Regions from separate parts of the Homo sapiens genome. Here region 2 is linked to region 1. The links are contacts of gene promoters, found by promoter capture Hi-C in blood cells and fetal thymus (Javierre and others, 2016). All regions are on one chromosome and are shown on one strand. The core of a region is centred on a gene start or on the middle of the fragment in contact, and the rest is flanking DNA. Distances in the headings are between cores, read along the strand shown.

The links. The method cuts DNA at HindIII sites, captures the fragments that hold promoters and counts their contacts. A CHiCAGO score of 5 or more calls a contact.
Region 2: a fragment that was not itself captured here is called in contact with the fragment with the promoter of TSHR in region 1 in 9 of 17 cell types (naive CD4 T cells, activated CD4 T cells, total CD4 T cells and 6 more); the score reaches 7.7 in naive CD4 T cells.

The regions. Positions count from the first base shown.
Region 1 is chr14:80,952,336-80,957,492 of GRCh38, reverse strand. TSHR (thyroid stimulating hormone receptor) reads right to left here and starts at 1,872. Exons shown (of 10, transcript NM_000369.5): 1 at 1,643-1,872. The coding sequence starts at 1,812. It also overlaps a transcript of CEP128 not described here. The HindIII fragment of the contact is 2,816 bases long and covers 254-3,069 here.
Region 2 is chr14:81,243,013-81,247,742 of GRCh38, reverse strand. It overlaps the pseudogene DYNLL1P1. Among named protein-coding and RNA genes, the nearest start is that of GTF2A1-AS1, 24 kb to the right of the region's middle. The HindIII fragment of the contact is 6,209 bases long and covers 1-4,668 here.

The DNA.
Region 1 (5,157 bases), core at 623-3,122:
TTATTCACTTAAGTTTTTTTTTTTTTGTTTTTTCTGAGTGTCTAAGTAGTTCCAGGGTTTCAGGAATTCGGGGTTGAATGGCAGTTCCCTATGTTAGAGAAGCTTGTGTCCTGCTTGAGTGGGCATGCAAATAAATAACAAGTTACAAGAAAGTAGACAATGTCTAAGGGCTAGGGTTAGGTTCATGCAGAGAACGCTGTTGGGAAGGGGGGTATAGCTTACCCAGCCTGAAGGTCATGGGTCAGGAGAAGCTTCCTGCAGGGTTGATCCAGGATCTGGATCTGGGAGTAGGCATTAGCTGGGTGAAGAAATGGGTGAAATGTGCTTCAGGCAGAGGGGCCAGAAAGTGGGAAGAAAGGCAAGGGCAGCTGTAACAGCAGGGACCTTTGGGGAAGTGCCAGAAGTTCTCAGCAGGAGGGGGAAGTTAGAGAAATGAGGAGCAATGAGGTTGGAAAGACTTGACTAGGTCTTGAAAGATCTGGTAGGCTGCACAAAAGAATTTTATTCTAGAGGTGACAAGCAACCTATGTAGAGGTGTAATCAAGAGGCCATTACACCTTTTACACATCTTATTCTGTGGTGGCAGCATGGAGAATGACTACCACACTGTTTGGAGGTTATTGAACTAATTAATTCAGGTGTGCTAAGACACTAGGATATCTCTGAGCACAGAAATATATCTCTGTGCTCAAATATTCATCTACTGTTAAATAGTCTTCATGAGCTAAATTCTTGAGAAAATCTAGAGGTGCAACTTTCCCATTTCTTTTCATCTATCAACATTTTCTTTAATAACCTGCATTTTTTTTTATCTTAACTGGATTTAACCAGCCTAGGTTGTTTTACTGTCCTTTCTTTCTGTTCTCTTTTTAACTAATCAAGACAGACTTTATTCCCTTGGTTTTGTCTACAATTTCAATGATCACTGATTTAAATTGCTGTTAAGAAACAGGTTGTGTGTGTATAATCTTATTTAACATCAGGTTTCTAATCTGGTAACATTTAACATGCAGATAAATGTACTATACTTTTATGAAATTTCATTTCTTTATACCTCTATCACAAAGCAGGGTTCTGGACGTACTATTTCACTGGCAGTTCACATTTGAGTAAGTAACTTACAGATACTGTATAGACAGTTCATTTTAAAAAGGGCCCCTGCTTAAACCTTTGTCAACAATTTGATGAATCAGCAGAACTGCTAAGATAACCTCCCATCTAGAGAAACAAAAAGGAGAAATACATATTTTTGCAATTTTTTATTACCCAAGGTAAGATCAAAAAGGTCAGTTCCTGAGATGCCATTATCCTTATTAATTCAAATAAAACAGATTCAACCAGGGTTAGGCAAAGTGCTGAATAGCAGCTTGTTGGAAAGAACAGCTCTCACGGTCATTGTACACCAAAGTTTTGTAACATTTTCCTGTGTTGGGAATGAGGATGTCAACAATGATACCTTCCCAAGTGTGGGCGATTAAGTTTTTAGCACACACACACATCTACACACACAGACATTCACTCACACATACACACACTCACACACTACTTCGGGCTGTTATTGAGCTGCTTTTGTGCACTTCGGGCCACCTCTGCAGATGCCCTTGATCTCTGGGTCCTACCCTGATCTCTCCCGGGTACTCACAGAGTCTGCGTACTGGGCGGTAAGCTGGGGATGCGTTGAATATCCTTGCAGGTGACTCTGAAGTCCTCCTCCTGATGGCACTCGCAGGGTGGAGACGAACACCCCATTCCGCCCAGGTCCCTGGGCAGGTCGAGCAGCAGCACCAGCTGCAGCAAGTCCGCCGGCCTCATTTTCCACGGGACTCGGGGCTATTTCTCCATCCTCCGAAATCGCCTCATTCTCAGCTCTGCACCTCGGGTTACCCCAGGCCAAAGGAGACCCGGGAGCGGGAGGGGTGGGAAGAGGGAGGGCTCCAAGGGGCTGTGACCTCACCACTGTGGAGGAGGCTGGAGAAGGGGAAAAAGAGGCACTTAAGTGCTCCGCTTCCCTAGGCAACCTTGACCCAAACAAGTCTGCTTGCTTCACTTTCCTTGGCTGGACCCACGCAGTCCGCTCCGTCTGTTCCCTGACACCCAACACCAGTCCTGGCTGTCCCCTCTGTTTTCCAGCCCGCCCCCCCACCCCGGGCGCCCCTCCCATTAGTTCTCTCCAAAGCCTAGTTTAGATGCCCCCTCCTTTCCTCCTCTTTAAATCCAAGGAGCCACCTTCCCTAGCGTGTAGCCTTCTAGACACCCTGTCTGCCTGGGAGCCACTCGCACGCACTCCTTATCCAGAGAAAGTCCCCGCGGAGTGGACTGTCCGCGGGCGGACCAATGTCCTGCAGAACTTCAGCTCCTCCTGGCCAGAGACACCTCTGCTGAGGGTCAGAGGCGGGCACGCAGCCCTGGCTAGCCCGCGGTGCGGCCGAAGCCGTCGCCCTGCACCCCTGGAGGATTCTCGTTGCTATCCAACTGCAGGGGCCACTCCGGTGGTTGAGTCGACTGGCAGCGGCCGCCTCACGTTGCAGCCCGCGGCTCCGCGAGGCAATTCAGGAACTGAACTTTGGGGCCATCTGCTGGGAAGAATCGGGAATGGCAGAAATAATTCCAGGTTCCCTTAATAATGGGTCCAGTATGGAAATTCTGGTCGACCCAAGAATTTCATTGAGTCATATTCCCCCTGGAAGATGGGAAGAAAAATAATACTTAAGTGGCATACTCACCATTCTTCGCACAGTAGCCAAAAAGATCATTACAAACATAAATCAGATTGTGCCTATTTCCTTCTTAAAAGTCTTCAATCACTTATTCCTCTTGGGATAAAAGGAATGTCAATTCCTTCTATACTGCATAATTCCTTTTATATGAACTTGGCTAGGACAGGAAGGAAAAAGTTGTGGTTATGGGAATCAGAATAAAGGTTAGGAAAGATTGACTAGAAAAAGACAGGAGGGAACACACAGGGTTTCCATATCGTAATTAGGCTGGAGGTTAAGTGGATGTATACATTTATCAAAATTCATTAAACCGTACATTTAAAATATGTGTATTCCAAATTTTACAGAAGCTTTATTCATAACCACTAAACGAACCAAGTGTCTCGCGACTAGATAATGGATAAACAAACTCTGATACCTCCACATTGGAATACTATTCTGCAATAAAAATGAATGAACTGCTGATACAACATGCACAAATTTTCTTTTCTTTTTTTTTTTCTTTTGAAACGGAGTCTTGCTCCGTCGCCCAGGCTGGAGTGCAATGGCGCGATCTCGGCTCACTGCAACCTTTGCCTCCGAGGTTCAAGCAATTCTGCTGCCTCAGCCTCCCGAGTAGCTGGGACTACAGGCGCCCGCCACCACGCCCGGCTAATTTTTTCGTAATTTTAGTAGAGACGGGGTTTCACTGTGTTAGTCAGGCTGGTCTCGATCTCCTGACCTCGTGATCCGCCCGCCTCGGCCTCCCAAAGTGCTGGGATTACAGGCTTGAGCCACCGCACCCGGGCTTTTGTTGTTGTTTTTTTAAAAATTACCATGGTATTGTTATGGAACAAATCTTGAATGCATAATGTTAAGTGAAAAAAGCCAAACTCAAAATATTACGTATTTATATGTAATTATTCATATTAATGATTCATTTATATAGCTTTCTCAAAAAGGCAAAACCATAGGGACAGGAAAAAGATCAGCGGTTGCAAAGGCCTAGGGTAGGGCTGACTACAAATGAACACCAGAGAATTTTGTGGGTAATAAAACTGTTTTAAATCTTGTTCGTGGTGATGGTTCCATGGTAGTTTATTAATGTGGTGAATCATAGTGATCGATTTTCGAATGTTAAACCCACCTTGAATTGCAGGGATAAATCTCACTTGATCATGATGTATTTATCCTTTTTTTGTTTGTTTGTTTGAGACGGAGTCTCGCCCTGTCGCCCAGGCTGGAGTGCAATGGCACGATCTTGGCTCACTGCAACCTCCGCCTCCCGGGCTCAAGGGATTCTCCTGCCTCAGCCTCCAGAGTAGCTGGGATTACAGGCGCCCGCCACCACGCCCGGTTAATTTTTTGTGTCTTTAGTGGAGACGGGGTTTCACCATGTTGGCCAGGCTGGTCTGGAACTCCTGATCTCGTGATCCGCCCGCCCCAGCCTCCCAAAGTGCTGGGATTACAGGCATGCACCACCGTGCCCGGCCGTGTTTATCATCTTTTTAATATACTCCTTCATTGGATTTGCTAAAATTCTGTTTAAAAGTTTTACATAGACGTTCACAAGGGATAGTAGTCTGTTATTTTCTTTTCTGTAACTTCTTTGTCAAATTTTGGTATGAGGGCAATTAATTCTTCCATCACAGAATAAGTTGGGAAATATTCCTTCCTCTTTAAATTTCTATAGGAGTTTGTGTAGAACTGATATCATTCCTTTCTTACTTATTTGGTAGAATTCTCCAGTGAAGCTGTTGGAACCTTGCATTTTCCTTATTGGAAGGTTTTTAACTATAAATCCAGTTTCTAAACATAGATTTAGGGCTATTCAAGTCATATAATTCTTCTTGAGGTAGCCTGGGCAGTTTGTGTCATATAATGAATTGTCTATTTCATCTAAATTGTTGAATTTATTGGCATGAGTTTGTTCATAATATTCTCTTATCCTCTTATATTTATATAATCTATTCTGATGTCAACTCTGTCATACCTGATATTGATAATTTGTATCTTCTTTTTTTCACCTAAGTACTTTATCCAGAGGGTTATCAATTTTATTCATATTCTCAAAGAAGCAAATTTTTGTTTCTTAGATTCTCTATTTTTTTTTGTGCTCTATTTCATTGATATATGCTCTGATCTTTATTATTTTATTACTCTGCCTACTTGGGGTTTAATTGGCTCTTCTTTACTTCTTAAGGTGAGGTTTCTTAAGACTGAGGTCACTGATTTGAGGCCATTTTTCTTTTATAATATTGTATGTGTGTAGTGCTGTAGACTTTCCCTATACTACTTTAGAGACATCCCACAGGTTTCGATATCTTGTAATTTCATTTGTATTCAGTTTAAAATACTTTTTAGTTTTTCTTTTAGATTTCTTCCTTGATTCTTTAGAAGCATGTGGTTTAGTTTCCAAATATTTGAGGAATTCTCAGATATTCTGTTGTTAATTTGTAAA
Region 2 (4,730 bases), core at 315-2,814, 290 kb before region 1:
TGTGTCCTCCCACATATGGGAGCTGAGATGCCCCAGGCCAGCAGAGTGGCTACACTAGAACTAGCCCTGCAGCACCCCTGCCCCCAACAGTCATGCTCCTGACCTGCCCAGTGGGCCTGTGTCTCCGATAAGAGCTTAAGAAAGAGTCCTGTAGGTCACTACTGGTGGCACGTCTCCAGGGCAGCCAAGCAGCCAAGAGCCCATATGCCGGACTTAAAAAGCAGTCCCGCAGGCTGCCCCTTGTGGGCGTGCCCCTGAGCCAGCTGAGCAGCCATGCACTTGAATCCCAGACCTGAGAAACAGCCCTGTGGGCTGCCCCTGACAGTCATCCCCCAGGACAACTGACCGGCTGTGTGTCCGTGTCCTAGATTGAAAAACAGCCCTGCAGGCTGCCTGTAGTGGACACAACCACAAGCTGACTAAGCAGTCCTGTGCTCCTTGCCCAGGCCTACGAAATAATCTCATGGGCCACCACCCACAGAAATGCCCCTAGGCCATTTGAGCAGCAATGCAGATATGTCATAGGTCTGAGAAATAGCCTTGTGCCCAACCCAGGCAGCAGAGCAGTCATGCACCCATGCACTGGATCTGAGAAATAACTTGCGGGCCACCCCCAGCAGACGTGCCCCTGGGCCAGCCAAGCAGACTTGTGCCCACATCCTGGGCGTGAAAAGCAGCCCCATGGGCCGCCAATGGCAGACATGTCCGCAGGCCAATCAAACAGTTGTGTACCAGCATCCTGAGCCAGAGGAACAGCCCCCTGGACCATCCTCAGCAGATGTGCACTCACACCAGCCAAGAAGCCATGTGATCACGTCTTGAGCCTGAGAAACCTCAGGGACCACCCCCAACAAACATGCCCCAGGCCAACTGAGAAACTGGGCAGCTGTGTCCTGGGCCTAAGAAACTCTGTGAATCACCCAGAGCAGACACACCCTAGACCCAAGCAGCTTTATGCCTGCATCCTAAACCAAAGAAAGCATGTTGTGGGTCACCCCTGGCAGACACATCACCAGGCCAGCCAAGCAGCTGTGTGCCCACATCCTGGGTTGAAGAAAGTCCCACAAACCGAGATGCGCCACGGCTTTGGTAGCAACGGCAGCTCCAGCCGGGCCTGAGCTGTGCTGGCACCTCCCAGGGGACCGTTGGAGTTGGCCAGCCCCTTTCTCCATGGTAACCATGTGCGACCGAAAGGCCGTGATCAAAAATGCGGACATGTCGGAGGAGATGCAACAGAACTCAGTGGAGTGCGCTCCTCAGGCGCTGGAGAAATACAACATAGAGAAGAACACTGCGGCTCATATCAAGAAGGAATGTGACAAGAAGTACAATGCCACCTGGCACTGCATCCTGGGGAGGAACTTCAGTAGTTACGTGACACATGAAACCAAACACTTCATCTACTTCTACCTGGGCCAAGTGGCCATTCTTCTGTTCAAATCTGGTTAAAAGCATGGACTGTGCCACACACCCAGTGGTCCATCCAAAAACAAGGACTGCAGCCTAAATTCCAAATACCAGAGACTGAAATTTTCAACCTTGCTAAGGGAACTCCTCGATGTTTGAACCTTTGTTGTGTTTTGTACAGGGCATTCTCTGTACTAGCTTGTTGTGGTTACAAAACAATTAGCACAATAGCCTACATCTGTATTTATTTTCTATTCCATACTTTTGCCCCACGTTGTTTTCTCTCAAAATCCATTCCTTTAAAAAATAAATCTGTTGCAGATGTGAAAAGAAAAAAAAAAAAGTCCCACAAACCATTCCTGGCAGGCACACCCCAAGGCCAACTGAGCAACCATGTGTGCATGCCCCCAGCCAGAGTAACAACCCTGTGACCTAAACCACAGTGAGCCAAACCCCAAGTTGGCTGACCCACTGTGTGCATACACACACACACACCAGGCCTGAGAAACAGTCTGGGAAGCCCAACTCCAGCAAAGCCACATCATTATCACAAATTCTCTCAGCCTAGACCACTGAGAAACACACAAATGCCACTAGTATGGATTACAGCTGAAGAGACTAAATGGAGAGTACACTACTGTACATACCTAGAATCAAGGTCAATGCACCCCACTGAACTGACACCCAAAGGTTTATTGGTACAAATAAGTGTTTCCCTATGAAGCCTTCTTCATAAAACTGGAAAACATAACTTTTCCACCAGATGTGTAGAAATCAATGTATGAACACATCAACCATGAAAAGGGGAAAGAAACATGTCACTTTCAAGGAAAACAATACTTCTCTAGTAACAGACTCTAATAAAACAATATGAAATGACAGAAAAAGAATTCAAAATAATAATCTTAAAGAACCGCAGTAAGATGCAAGAGAATACAGATAGACTAATGAAATCACAAAAATCAGTTTATTATTTGAATGAGAAATTCAACAAAAAGATAGATATCATAAAAAGAAGCAAACAGTCTCTCCCTCCCCCTCCCCTTCCCCCTCCCCTTCCCCCTCCCCTTCCCCCTCCCCCTCCCTCTCCCTCTCGGCACGGTCTCCCTCTGATACCCATACGAGGCTGGACTGTGCTGCCGCCATCTCGGCTCACTGCAACCTCCCTGCCTGATTCTCCTGCCTCAGCCTGCAGAGTGCCTGGGATTGCAGGCACGCACCGCCACGCCTGACTGGTTTCTTTATTTTTTGGTGGAGACGGGGTTTCGCCGTGTTGGCCTGGCTGGTCTCCAGCTCCTGACTGCGAGTGATCTGCCAGCCTCGGCCTCCCGAGGTGCCGGGATTGCAGACGGAGTCTCGCTCACTCAGTGCTCAATGTTGCCCAGGCTGGAGTGCAGTGTCGTGATCTCAGCTCGCTGCAACCTCCACCTCCCAGCCGCCTGCCTTGGCCTCCCAAAGTGCCAGATTGCAGCCTCTGCCCGGCCGCCACCCTGTCTAGGAAGTGAGGAGCGTCTCTGCCCGGCTGCCCATCATCTGGGATGTGAGGAGCCCCTCTGCCCGGCTGTCCGGTCTGGGAAGTGAGGAGCACCTCTTCCCAGCCGTCATCCCGTCTAGGAAGTGAGGAGCGTCTCTGCCCAGCCGCCCATCGTCTGGGATGTGGGGAGCGCCTCTGCCCCGCCACCCCGTCTGGGAGGTGAGGAGCATCTCTGACCGGCCGCCCCGTCTGAGAAGTGAGGAGCCCCTCCGCCCGGCAGCCGCCCCGTCTGGGAAGTGAGGAGCCCCTCCGCCTGGCAGCCACCCCGTCCGGGAGGTGGGGGGCAGCCCCTGCCCGGCCGCCACCCCGTCTGGGAGGTGGGGGGCGCCTCTGCCTGGCCGCCCCGTCTGGGAAGTGAGGAGCCCCTCTGCCCGGCTGCCACCCCGTCTGGGAGGTGTACCCAACAGCTCATTGAGAACGGGCCATGATGACGATGGCAGTTTTGTCGAATAGAAAAGAGGGAAATGTGGGGAAAAGAAAGAGATCAGATTGTTACTGTGTCTGTGTAGAAAGAAGTAGACATAGGAGACTCCATTTTGTTCTGTACTAAGAAAAATTCTTCTGCCTTGGGATGCTGTTAATCTATAACCTTACCCCCAATCCCGTGCTCTCTGAAACATGTGCTGTGTCCACTAAGAGTTAAATGGATTAAGGGCGGTGCAAGATGTGCTTTGTTAAACAGATGCTTGAAGGCAGCATGCTCGTTAAGAGTCATCACCACTCCCTAATCTCAAGTACCCAGGGACACAAACACTGCGGAAGGCGTCAGGGCCCTCTGCCTAGGAAAACCAGAGACCTTTGTTCACATGTTTATCTGCTGACCTTCCCTCCACTATTGTCCTATGACCCTGCCAAATCCCCCTCTCTGAGAAACACCCAAGAATGATCAATAAATGCTAAGAAAAAAAAAATTGATAAACATAATGACTGCAAAAGTCTATCTTTTCTTTTTAGTATTCTTTCTTAAATGTATTTTCTACCCTAATATTTCATGAGAACTTTGATTCCTACTAAAATATGAATGTTCACATAAAAAAAAAGAAGCAAACAGAAACCCAAGAGCTGAAGAATTCAGTGAATGAAATACAAAATATGCTTAAGAGCTTCAGCAACAGACTAGACCAAGCAGAGAAAGGAATTTCTAAACTTGAAGACAGGTATTTTGAAATAACATACACAGACCATAAAAAAAACGGATAAAGGATAAAGAATAAAAACGAATGAAGAAAGTATACAGAATTTGTGGGTATCATGGGCATTCCAGAAGGAAAAGAAGAGAAAAGGTGAGCAAAACATAGTTGATAAAATAATCAGCAGAAACATTCTTGGGAGAGAGACAGAGATCTAGGTTCAGGAAGATCAAAGAACCCCAAACAGATCCTCTCCAAGGCACATTAAAGGAAAAACATCAAGTCACATATAAAGGCATCTCAATTAAACTAACAAAGCATTTCTCAGCGAAACCTTACGGGCCAGAAGAGAATAGGATAATATATTCAAAGTACTAAAAGAAAAAGAAACTGCCAGTCAAAAATATACCTAGCATAGCTATCCTTCTAAAATAAAGGAGAAGTAAAATCTTTGATAGATAAGAAAAAAACTAAGGAAATTTATCACCACCAGACCAGCCTTACAAGAGATACTCAAGGGTATCTTATATCTGGAAGTGAAAACACAACTACCACCATTATTTACCTACATGCAGGAGAAAGAAAGGAATCAAAGCTTATTGCTACAGAAAACCACCCAACTGCAAAAATAAACAAAAAGAGAGTAAGGAACAAAGAAC